Linked DNA regions of Homo sapiens: all the other regions are linked to region 1. Evidence: promoter capture Hi-C in 16 types of primary human blood cells and fetal thymus (Javierre and others, 2016). All regions are on one chromosome and are shown on one strand. The core of a region is centred on a gene start or on the middle of the fragment in contact, and the rest is flanking DNA. Distances in the headings are between cores, read along the strand shown. Region 1 holds the start of RNF146 (ring finger protein 146). Region 2 overlaps TRMT11 (tRNA methyltransferase 11). Region 3 overlaps TRMT11 (tRNA methyltransferase 11). Region 4 has its middle 160 kb from the start of CENPW.

Evidence for each region. Contacts are between HindIII fragments. The CHiCAGO score rates a contact against its expected background, and 5 or more counts as called.
Region 2: a fragment that was not itself captured here is called in contact with the fragment with the promoter of RNF146 in region 1 in 2 of 17 cell types (total CD8 T cells and naive CD8 T cells); the score reaches 6.1 in total CD8 T cells.
Region 3: a fragment that was not itself captured here is called in contact with the fragment with the promoter of RNF146 in region 1 in 1 of 17 cell types (M2 macrophages); the score reaches 6.0 in M2 macrophages.
Region 4: a contact is called between a fragment that was not itself captured here and the fragment with the promoter of RNF146 in region 1, in 1 of 17 cell types (M2 macrophages). The highest score is 5.5, in M2 macrophages.

The regions. Positions count from the first base shown.
Region 1 is chr6:127,265,328-127,268,386 of GRCh38, forward strand. It overlaps RNF146 (ring finger protein 146), which reads left to right and starts at 1,537. Exons shown (of 3, transcript NM_001242850.2): 1 at 1,537-1,598. RefSeq lists silencers at 1,496-1,595, 1,696-1,965 and an enhancer at 2,166-2,225. The HindIII fragment of the contact is 5,432 bases long and covers 465-3,059 here.
Region 2 is chr6:126,002,805-126,005,863 of GRCh38, forward strand. The region is part of intron 7 of TRMT11 (tRNA methyltransferase 11); the gene reads left to right. Among named protein-coding and RNA genes, the nearest start is that of TRMT11, 18 kb to the left of the region's middle. The HindIII fragment of the contact is 779 bases long and covers 1,233-2,011 here.
Region 3 is chr6:126,038,887-126,041,945 of GRCh38, forward strand. TRMT11 (tRNA methyltransferase 11) reads left to right here. Exons shown (of 13, transcript NM_001031712.3): 13 at 1-390. Among named protein-coding and RNA genes, the nearest start is that of TRMT11, 54 kb to the left of the region's middle. The HindIII fragment of the contact is 4,354 bases long and covers 1-3,059 here.
Region 4 is chr6:126,173,599-126,176,657 of GRCh38, forward strand. It overlaps a transcript of TRMT11 not described here. Among named protein-coding and RNA genes, the nearest start is that of CENPW, 160 kb to the right of the region's middle. The HindIII fragment of the contact is 4,515 bases long and covers 1-3,059 here.

The sequences.
Region 1 (3,059 bases), core at 287-2,786:
GCGGAGGTGGTAAGTAGTTGGATATACTTTGAAGGAAGAGCCAACAGGTTATATGCCAAATGCATATAAGACATAAAAGAGAGGAGTTAAAGGTGGGTTTGAACAAGGAAAGATGCAACCATTTACTGAAATACAAAGACCTTGGGTATGAGTGAGAAGGGGTTGAACTAGCTGACATCTTACAGTCTGTGCCTGGATTCAAATCTCAGCTGTGTGTGTCTCTCTCTCTGTAAAATGGGAATAATAATAGTGCCTACCTCATAGTTTATTATGAGAATTAAGTGGGTATATATGAATAAAGCACTTAGAGCAACACCTGGCACATTGTTAGTTAATATTAGCATTACCTCTTCAAGCTGGAATCTTCGAGTACATATCAAATTTTAGCTATTCTCTGTTCATGGGCTGTGTAGGATAGAGGGACAAAACTGAGTGGCTAATAAGAAGATAAAGATAGAAAACTAAGCTTAAAGTTAAAGGATATACACTTCAATATTTCTACATGTATGGAACAGTATTGCATACACGCGCAAGCATCACTGAACTAGATGCACCCTTCAAGAGATTGGGTTACATATTGATATATATGAATGAGAACCCTGAAATAAACTGATTTCAGAGGAATAACAGAAAACATATACATTTCTATACCTATAAGGACACTGAAAACTTCCAATCCTGAATCAAACAGTTAATGAAATCCCAAAATGCAACACTAATGCAAATGAGAAGACGCTGTCATAGAATGTTGAAATACATACTCTTCTAAAGATAAAAGGTCTGCTCTTCCACCCTCTTCATTTTCCTACAAATTAGGAAAATTTAATCAGTTCTGAAAAAGGAAATGTACATGCTAAAATGGTGAATTACTGCTAGAGTTCTGATGTTTAAAACCACAGGCTTGCGATCAAAATAACCTCTTTAATTTTAGATTATCATGCAGATTAATTTCTTCAGTTTCTCAGGCACTATTCTGTTTTTTTTAAAAAAAGGGTGGGGTTTCAAAAGAAAACTAATACTCATTTTTTCCCCGATTAAATTGCTCAACCATTAAAAAGGAGAACAAATTGGAAAGTCCTACAGTACTCTCTCCCCTCCGTCCCCCCCCTCCCCATTTTTTTTCTTGAAAGGGAACAAGCAGTACTTTTGCTAAGGGATCTTTAAGCCGAAACTCAGCTAGGCGCCCCAGAGCTTCCTCAGGATAGCAAAGCTGGATTTTTGAGCAGCACCACCTGCTGGTCCTACACACGTTTTACTTCCTCCACCCCAAATCTCTTTCTGTTGGAACTGCACTCTTTCAGAGCCTCTGGGCCCTAATACAAAGCAAGCACACTCTAAAGAAGCCAGAAGAATGCAAGCAGCGAAGTCGCCGCTCCCCACAGGCAAGAGAGTACCGGCAGACAGCGGCGCGAGACAGGGGCAGAACGATGAGGCGCCGGAGTTAGCTCGCCGGTGCGGGTGCGGGTGCGCGGCGCGTCGCGGCCCCTCCTCCGCGACGCGCCGGGTGGTCACGTGACGGCCGCGCGCGTTCCCGGCAGCTGCGGGCTCCGAGGCCAGAGAGAAAAGACTGCGAGGTGGCCGCAGCTGTGGCCGGAGAGGTGGGAGTCGGAGCGAGGCCCTCTCGGGGGAGCAGGGTGAACGCCGGCCACTCTAGGATCCTCACTCGGGGAGAGGAGGCATAGCTCGCGGTGTCACCTCCAGCCGCAACGTACTCCGGGTCGGCCTTGCGCTCGGGGCCTGAGAGGGGCGGCGGCGGGGTCAGGGGCCGGTACGTAGATGGACGCCCTTGGGCTGGCGCGGCCCCGGCTGTCCGCGCAGAGGCGGGATGGGACAGTTCAGCCCTTTCCGCCACCCCCGCCTTGGCTGCTGGGGCAGGCAAGACGACCGTGACAGCCCCTGCGCTGCCCGAGGGCGCCGCAGCCCCTGCCCTGGGTGACGGCCGGAGCTGGTCTCGGTCCGGGTGCGAGGGGCGGAGCAGCGGCCATTACTGCGCAGCCTCTTCCGCCTGAGCCCGCTTCGCTGCCTCGGGTGGCAGGCGGGTCCCTCTCCTCCCCTCTGGGCCGTGGTTTTAGGCCTTTACCCGGGGACCTTCTGGCCTCGAGGTGTAGGGGCGGCGATGGTTTTTCGGCGGTAGCCTGCTCCATGTTTTCCCGTGTGGGGTCAGACAGTTTGGGCCTTGGGTCAGATCGAAGCCAGGGCGTACAGTCTGCATTTTTGCCTTTTCCCGGAGTGTCTCTGGCTGCTGCTTTCTCTTCTCTCGCTCTTCCTCCTTTTTTTTCTCCTGCTCAGTGTCTCGGTCTTGCCTAAAACGAAGAGAGCAATCCCTGCACCTTGTCCTAGTGAAGCCCAGCGCTGCATATTCTTAGTTGTTTTTGACGGCTGTTGAAGCATCGGAACAATTAAGAGATCTCAGAATATCCCTTGAGCCTCCAAACCCTCTGCATCTTAAAAGCTGAGGCTGTTGCTTTGTTCTGATTGTTGGGTGGGGAGTTCTCTTCCTACCCTCCATCCCGTCTGAAGGAGTGTGGGTCTTCCATTGTTGTCGCTATTTATTTTGCTAAGGCTTCTAAAGAATGTAAAATTGTTTTAAGAGTGGAGACGGAACCGTCCTCTCCACAGGTAAAACCTACAGGACTGTAAGTTTACACACACATCCTGGCAACTAGAATCTTTTCTCGTTAATCATATTGGTATATGTTTTAATTTATTTTCTCTAAGTGCCATTTTAGTGAGCACTTATTTCTCAAGTTTTGAACATTTTGTTTAATATTTTTGTAATATCGAAACAGTGTAGAACTGAGGAGAGAAGAAAGCCCAAAGATGATAGGGTACGCTTTGTTCTTTGTATGATTGGCATTTCAGGTAGTGGGCACATCCCCCCCACCTCGTGTGTGTACTTTTCAAATGGGATGTGAACGTATAATATTGGCATTCAATCCAGTATATAATTATAGAATTTGGAAGACTTAGGACATTTTAGTCAGTGAATCTATATTTAGACTTTTCAAAGACATGGCACGTAAGGACACGTGGAGAAAATGTCCCACACAGATAACAGG
Region 2 (3,059 bases), core at 372-2,871, 1.3 Mb before region 1:
TCTAGTTGATTCTTCCTGTTTCTTTTTGTAATGATAATACATTTTCTGATTCATAATGGAATATATACATTTTCTTATTTTCGCTACTTTCTTACACAAAAGGTATCATACTGTGTGTGTTGGTTTTAACTTTGCTTTTTTCACTTAATGGTATTTCCTGGAAATCACTTCCTGTCAGTTCATGGAGCTTATCTTTATTCTGTTTTAGTTTTGCTTCATGAGTGTATGTACCGTAATTTATTCAAACAATCTCCTATAGTTGGACATCGGTAGTTTTCAGTATTTTACAGTTACAAATAATGCTTGAAATGACTAACCTTATGAATATATACCTTTGTAATGTTGGAGATGTAGCTCTAGGGCAAGCTTATCCAACCCGCAGCCCATGGACCACATGTGGCCCAGATGGCTTTGAATGTGGCCTGATACAAACTTGTAAAGTTTCTTAAAACGTTATGAGAATTTTTGCAATTTTTTTTAGCTCACCAGCTATCATTAGTGTTAGTGTATTTTATGTACAGCCCAAGACAATTCTTCTTCGAATGTGGCCCAGGAAAGCCAAAAGATTGGACCCCTCTGTCCTAGGGTAAATTCTTACAAGTAGGATTTCTGGGTTGAAGAGTGTATGCATATGCAGTTTCATTAGATACTGCCAAATTTGTCTCCATTATACTATTTTGGATTCCTACCAACAGTTGTAGGAGAGTCCCTGTTTTTCCACAGTCTCACCAGCAGAGTATATTTCAGGCTTTTGAAGTTTTGCTTGTTCTGTTGGGTGAAAAATGATATCTCAATGTAGTGTTAATTTGTATGTCTATGGTTACGAATGAAGTATCACAATTTTTTATATTTTAAGGGCCATTATGACTTTCTTTGATTTGTCTTTTTTTGTCTTTTGCCCATTTTTTGATAGCATTTTTGGTCTCTTTCCCTGATTTTTCAAGGTCCTTTGTAAGCTTGAGATACAACCTCCTCACACTCCCCTTATTTTTCTGTGATGTATGCTGCAGTATTTTCCCTTAGCTTGTCATTTATCTTTTGACTTTGCTACTAATTGATTTTTGCCATGCAAAAGTTTTCCCCACACTCAAGTTATAGAGGAATTCATTTGTGTTTTCTTCTAGTGCTTTTGTAGTTTTACATTTTTTCTTTTTAGATCTCTGGTTCATTTGGAGATTATTCTCCAGTATGATGTGAAGAATGGATTTAATTTACCTTTTTCCAAATGCTAAAGCTTTTATTCTTAATCTTGTTCTTGGACTTTAAAAACTTTTTTTGTCAATTGAGAATAATTCTTTTAGATATATACATGTAGAAAATGATTAATATATATACATACACATAGACTAGACCACAGAGTTAAAAAATATGGTTGCCAGTATGGGTAATATTTTTTTGTTGAGTAGATGAGGCTAGATTTTGAAATTATCTTCACAGCTGTCAATATATGGACCATTTATAGTGTGTTGAGGGGCAAGGAGACCTGCTTCTGTTTGCTTTAGGGCAGCTCCTCACAGTGGGTAGTATATTTGGAACGTCTGACTGTTCATATAGTACAATTAATAGAAAATGAGAGGAGGATCTTTGCAAAGGTGCTGCTGAAATATATTTTCGTAATTTGTGTTTGTAGTTTAAGTATAGCTTTAGGACATCAGTCAATTTTTGGTGCTTTTGTTTTGAAACATAATAACCAATAATTGTGAATAGACACAGGTCTTAAGCACAGTTTGTCCTCTCTTGGGCCTTTTGCCTCATCGATGGGTGGTACCTTCTGAAGGACTGGAGAAATACGTAGCTCTGTGTCCTTCTCCATGGCCATAGTTTTCACAAAACATTTGTTGATATTTTTCTTTTGGTTGCCTTTTAAATAGTTTTTTAAAAAAAATTCATGTGTCTAATCCCCTTTTTATTTTAAAGGTACAAAATTGAAATGTATGTAGTTTCCCAAATGTATTGCTCACTTACTACTCATGGTTCGTGATTTTTCTCAGGGATATAGAGTAGGGTAGAAAGCTTCTGGGAGACTGAAAGGAGAAAAATAATCTTTTCATGCCTAAATACTTTTCCTTTTTTCCTTTAGACTGTTTGCTACTGTTGTTTAGAATGACATTATGAGCGGCAGAAACACACTTTTCTTTCAATTTTAACAAATACATTGGTTTTCATTTTAGTAAAAATTCTTTTTTTAAAGTGTGTGTCTCCACTTTCCCAAAGGGGAAGAGACATAGCATTGTGTCATCTCTTAGTTGTTAGGAAGTGCTACTATTCTCATGTGAGTTTGGCTAAAGGAATGATCATCATGAATTTATTGAATACCTATTAATGGCACAGCCCTGTCTGTGATACAGTACAAGACTTGTGAATGGCATATATAACACTCTTATTAACAGAGTGTGTAGCTTTACTTAATTTAATGTAATTTGTTTAGTAGCATATTTTGCTTTTGTTTATCTAATTGGTGAGTGAATATGTATTTACTTCAATTGGTGCTAATCCCAAAGGAGGTAGTATGATATAAAGAAAAGAATAAATAGAGCAAAGTTTAAATCTTTTTACCAATTAGTATGTGACTTTGGGCAAGATTCTTAACTTGTCTGGGTTTCACGTCTATCATTTGTAAAATGGTAATACTAATATATTGTGAGGATTAAGTGAGGCAATATGTGTATATCATATTTCTAGGAAGTTGCCTGACACGTGGTAGACATTTAGTGAACTGTAATGGTTATCATTATTACTTTTTGATTATTATTTTGATGATATTTTAGATGCCTTTTTGGTGAAAGATGTTAGATGTAGCTAATATTAAATGGTGATGATAAAGAATTTGACCATAAACTCATTTTCTAGTACTCTTTTTGGCTAATTTCCAAGATATTAGTAATTTGCAACTGTTGGCAGGTTATAGCAGCAGGCAAGGGAATTGAAATATAAAATTATAAATGTCAAATTCTTTGTTTATAATTAATATGTGCAAGTGGATGCCAGTTGCTTTAGGTAGCACAGAACTCTGCAGCCGTAGATCTGATCCCCTCTCATCCCCTCTGTCAAGTGAGTCA
Region 3 (3,059 bases), core at 355-2,854, 1.2 Mb before region 1:
CATCTGGATGTGAACTTTCATGTATGATCCAGAAAATAGGTACGGTTTTAAAATATTTTATATAGAAAAGCTACAAAGTAAATTGAGCAATGCTTTTAAAGTTATCTTTGTTTTATAGACTTTTTTGTTGTATGTATTACAGTCTTTATAATCTTATTTAATGTATATTTGTACTTTCAAGTACTGATGGAGATAGACTCAAAACAGTTATTTTTTTACAATTAATCTACAAAGGGAATTAATATTGTTGACTTTTAAAACATCTGCTGGATATATTATATGCAATTAATAGTAGTTAAGAATTTATTCATTTGGTAGATATGTTTATTTGGTTTTTGGTTGTCATCGATTTACATTGCCACTAATAAACCATATTGAGAATTTCTAAAATTGTGTCATATCTAGTTGTCTTCATGGGGGATGTGATGAGGGAAATAAATTTTTATTTAGAAATTCCAGACAAGGAAGGAATAACAATGCTAATAGTGATGATAAGAAAGGCTAAGACCTGACAACCTAGAAAGATTCCAAACTCCTTAAGGCCTGTCTACATTTGAAGCTCTTTTGTACCTTGGATTTGCTCCTGCATTCCTAACCGTTGACTGTTGCTCAAGTTAACTACCCACAATTTTTGGTTTAGAAAGTAACGGATAGTTAAAAGCAGTAACAGCAACACAAATGCTTGATGGTTCCTTAATGGTATTAAGCCTAATCAGTGCCCTTTGAAATAGAAGCTATATTTTTCTTGAAGGAGAAACTTTGCTGAGTCCACATTGTGTCCATCATGAAAATATCTTGCTTGAAAACCACTATACCCATTAATTCAGGATGCTAATAGCTTTCTTGCCTTTGGTGGTCAAATGTACCTCAGCAGGGTGGCAGTAAATGGATCCTCTCTCTCTAACCAGAGCCTGTATTTATTATTATTATTATTTTAGTGTTACTGCTGACTTTTATGGACTCAGAGTATTAATGTGCACAGCTTAGGACCTCTAAAAGTATAGTGCTGCCCAAGCAAAGAGACATCAGGCTATCTGCTTTGCTCTCTTTTTCTTGTCTTGCAGTTCAGGATTTCAGCAGCAGATCTCAAACATTTCACTGATTATTTTGTTTGGGTTTCTGGATGTGATTTGTGGTACACTGGGGGGAAATCTAAAAGTATTCAAGGATGATTTATTTTCAGTTTTTCTGTTTAAACCATCTTATTTAAAATGTTTCGAGGTTATATGGGAGGTGAGTTTGAAACTTTGTCACTGACTCAATTTGGAATATGAGATTTTAGCTTAGCCCCTTTTTTGGGTGGTCACAAAGATTAGTCCAAATAGTTCTGGAAAGTTGGAATATTAATTTTAGTCACATTATCCTTAAAAATTATCCAACACTTAAAAAATATTTGAAATTATTTGTTATTACTACTAATTGAGGTCTTCTAAACTATGATTCCTATTATGAGGCTTATTTTTGTATTAATCAGGAAGTTCAGTTTCCCATTCCTGAAATGTCACTAGGCTCAGAGTATAATTTGTTTAGTTGGTACTTATAAATAAAAAAGAAACCTGATTACTTCCAAACTATTTTGGTTTTAGAGCATAGGTCTCAAGCCCTCTTATTTTAACGAGAGAGTTTTATTTTTTGGCGTTAGGATCTTATTACTTTCGGCGTAAGTTACAGCAGATCCTTTCCAGGATTGCTCTGGTTTTCTATGTTACCACTGTATTCCTCATGTGCTTACAGCAACAATATCACCTAGCAAATTGCCTGCATTTCAGAAAGTCCTGTAGTTTGGATTTACAGTATAATCTGTGAAGGAATTCTAGGTGGTCTGTGGACTGGCCTATTTTAATGTTTATAATATGACAAAATGTATAATTTTGTTTCTGGCATATATTAAATATCCATAAACTCCAGACGGTTACCTTGGTGGTGTTCATCAGAGGTGCCTCCTTCCCGTCTATTCTGGTGAGTACTTTTTGCTCTAATAGCTGGGAGGAAATAGTGGAGTAGGTGGTCTTTGTGTTTAGCCAAAGTGGCCAGCAGATTTTGAAAAGTTTAAAATCTGCTACAATTTTCTCAGCCACTTCCTGCCCAGGGTGACCCAGCTTTGGGCCAGCTTGCCACTGATTTCCTTATGACTAACTCTTTAAATACAAGGATTGAGCAATAAAACATTTTCAAACTGTTTAAGCTCTGGGAGGTAAGTCAGTATTGCCACTATTTCCTTGTTGAGAAAACTCACTCAAATATTGAGATTCCCTACATATTTAAGAAGGATGGCAATTATAAGTAAAAACAAAACAAAAAACAACAACAACAACCTTATTTCAAGTTTTGTAGGGGAAAGTAGAGTATGTGTTAACATCACGGGAGGCATTGTAGTGGGTGTGTTTATTTTATTGGGTTAAAATTGTGCTTTAAAAGTTTGAGACATGGAAATAGCTTTTAAGGTAATATGTTTTATACTCGTAAATTAAAGAAGCAGGGATTTGACTTTTTTTCAACACCAGGAAATTAGACGTTGAGGTTGTGTTATATAGATGCCAATATAAGCAACTCTGGCTCTTGAATAAAAGTTCTTAGTCGTTTGGTGTTAGAAGAACTGCTGACATCTTATGCTGGAAATATTATCAAATATTGCTTATCCAAAGAGATATGGAATAAAACATAATGTTTCTCTGTTGAAAACTGAAGGTGACTTTTTTGGGAAATGATCTTATTTTCCATCCCATTGTAATAAATCTCCCTTGAAAAAGCACAGTGGAACTAGGCTCATGTTAATAGTTCTAACAGGAAAAAAATTCTTTGTAGATAAAGCAAGGCATAAATAAACTCATTAATGCATTGCAGTGGTGGAAATGGAGGTGAGTGTTGCCAAGGCAATTGATGACCTTATTGTTGACCTGCTTGACCAAAAGAGAATAAATTATTCCAAAATAAGAACCTTGGCTCTTTTTGCTGGGCTATGGTTCTGTTCCATTTTAAAGTTATTTAGAAAACTAAACACTTGCAAGAATCTTTGTTCTTAGAAGGACTGTATTCATAGAATAAGTGAAATCTACTTT
Region 4 (3,059 bases), core at 153-2,652, 1.1 Mb before region 1:
AACCCCATGATTTGCTTCCTTAAAAAGTATGGGCTGTGGATGGATTTTAAATCCTACTCTAAATACAAGACTGGTGTTAGCGGTTGTTTGCAGGAAAACCAAAGGAACTTAGCATCCTTCAGTGTGTTACAGAGACTGTGTGGCCTCAAGCAGTGAAGTGAAGAATTCTTTTTGTCTTTTTCCTCATATGCCCAACCTGGAAACCAGCAGAATTTTTGATGGTGCATCTGGTTCCTGGTGTGCTGCAGAAGTGATTAGTGTGTCATGTCACTGTGGCCTCTTTCTCTGCCCCAGGAGAATGTCTGGGGAACAGAAGAGCAGAGTCCTGCCTGGGATCATGTGGGTGGGGGAGCTATTCCTTCTCAACAGATAGTGTGAGAAGCACTGATCCAAGGTCCTGGCTGCTCAAAGTGTGTTCCTAGGAGCTTGCTGGACATGCAGAATCTCAAGTTCCATCCCAGAACCTGATGTTTTTATTTGGAGCACTGGCCTTGGCAACACATGTTCCTTCCTCACCTTTCTGCAGCCTCTCACTCCCCACTGTCGCCCACTCCTCATAGGCTATCCTCAGGAATGGCATTGGTGGAGTGTTGGTGAAGGTGTAGCTGCAAGCATTCTGATCTTTATTTTACAAACTCTAAACCCAGAAGACTCCAAACCCAGAAAAGTCTAAGTCACAGAAAGCAAAGGAACAGTCTTATTTCAGACACATCTACAGTCTTTGCTGGTTAAATGTCAGGAAGCCCACAAAAAGCTGCCAGACATTTCAGGGTATGAATTTCGTATCTGTACTTCTTGACATCTGCTGGGCTACCATGCCCTTCAATTTACCAAAATATGGAAATTTCCTTATGGCATTCTACCCAAATAATGAGGAAAATGTTGATGCTTCTCTCAGCCTCAGGACCTTAAAGCCACACTGTTCCTAACCACGCTTGCCTATATGGCACTTAGCACTTTACACAAAAAACAAACAGAGGTGTTTATTCCCTGGCAGTTAATATAAATGCTTTCTGTTTTGTAAAATAGGAACAGTATTTGATTCCATTATCACAGATCTCTTGTGGACAAGTCAAAATTCTTCAATTAAGGTTATATCTAGTTAAAGGAATTTTTCTCTTTGGTCTACATCCCCACCCTGAATGTCCTTGCCTGTTAGTTCCTTGCAGGTGAAAGGTAAAAAACCTTTGCAACTTCATGCTATAATTGTGCCTTTGAATTTTCAGAGGAAAAGACAGTGAGAGAGCAAGAGCAGATTGAGAAGCAGAAGAGTGAGTCGCAAAAAGAGAAAATGACAGAAATGGAGCACCCTGGTGAGTCCCAACCACATCCATTCTTGATGATAACAACCAAAGCTCAGAAAATGATTTCTTACAGAATGTTGTATCAAAAGGAGCATATTGTATGTGCAAAGTTGCTGCAGCTTTCCTAAGTTGGCTTCAAACTATCCAACTATGATGTTAACATATTACCTTCAGCCAGTATGATACACATATTGGAATGTTTTGTATCATTGACTACTTTTCCTGTGTCTGTCCACTCTACTGTTTCAAACCCCTGGTACTGGGACAGTGATTGAACCCAGGTATTCTTGTCAATAATAGTTGGAGGGGCTTAGCAATAGATCAAGGTATAGAAGAATTAAACCTGCTATAGCTTGATCTACTTTGAGATTAGAGTGTACAGGGTCCTCTCCAACCTGACACACTTGGCCCTTTTCTGACATAGGTTTAGTAAGTTTTGTGTGCATTTGTAGATATTTTTTCATTCCTAGGGGTTTGGCTTCATTGAGATGTGAGTTGTGGAGCCAAAATACCAGAGAGGCTGACTGTTTTTGTAGCAAGAGTTAGTTTATTTTGTGGTTGGGTTTGAAAAAGAAAAAGCTAAAAACTGCCCTCAAATATCTGATTTAGCTGATTGCTAGGTTATCTAAATCAACTTGAAAACTTTGGATAAGCATTATTCAAACACTAAAGGCAACAAAAGTCTATTTCATTATGTTTGCTCTGATACCTAGCTTCCCGGCTGACTTCTTTTCCAGTTCCTTTCATCCTTTCACAAACCTGAGGAATGAACATACAGAAAAGGCATTTTACTTAGTTACTATTAGAAAGCATGAATATCATCAACTCATATATCTTTATTCAGTTTAGTACTCTGCAGACATCCTTGTTGGATATTTTATTCTGGGATTGTTAGAACTAAAGTTAGCCTTAATGACTTAAAGCAATGATTTTCATAAATTTCTCCTGAAATGATGTTTTGGTACAAAATGCCCTGAAAATGATTTAACTATAGATAACACTGAGAATTTTACTTACTGCTGCTCATCAGAAAGACACCCTGGGTCTCCTTTCCCTCTCTCCACCCCTTATCCCCTTTCTCAGAGATTAATTGAGGAAACATTTAAAAAAGTTTTCAGTTTTGGTTAGGAAATAACATCATTAAGCAAGTTTTGCTGGGTGATGTGTAATCACTGAAACGCCAATTTGTTCAGGAAGCAGGAATTAACACCTTTGCTCTAGTGAAAAAGAAATTGGTACAAGACTTTAAGGAAGTCAAAATGATGAAGTTTGGATTAAGCTCTTAGCAGGAAAGGCAAAGGCCACAGTGAAAGCAATCCTGAGCTGGCCAGCCCTGTAAACAACTGCTAGCCCCTGGTTAAGTGTCTTTTTCTTTTGACATAGAGAAGTTAAAATATAGTGCAATTTAATATAGTCAGCACACTTCACCCTAAAATCCAATCAATTTATTAAAGAAAAAAAGGTCCATTCAACCCAGCCATTATACATGACTCTATAGTTCTTGGAAATAACTATAGTCAGCTCTGGAAACAGAAAACTAATCCAACTGACCACTTGAGGGAGGTGGTGGGTTATCTTGTCTAGAAAAAGGACCTCAGTTCCTTCTTTGTAGTGTGCAATTTTAAGAACTTTGAATACCTCCTGTGACCTATGGGTAAAATGAGATCACAGGAACCCAGACAATGGCCTTTTCTCCACTTGGATCTATAATCTAATTTTCCTATAAAGTAAGGGGAATAAAATAGATTTACAGAA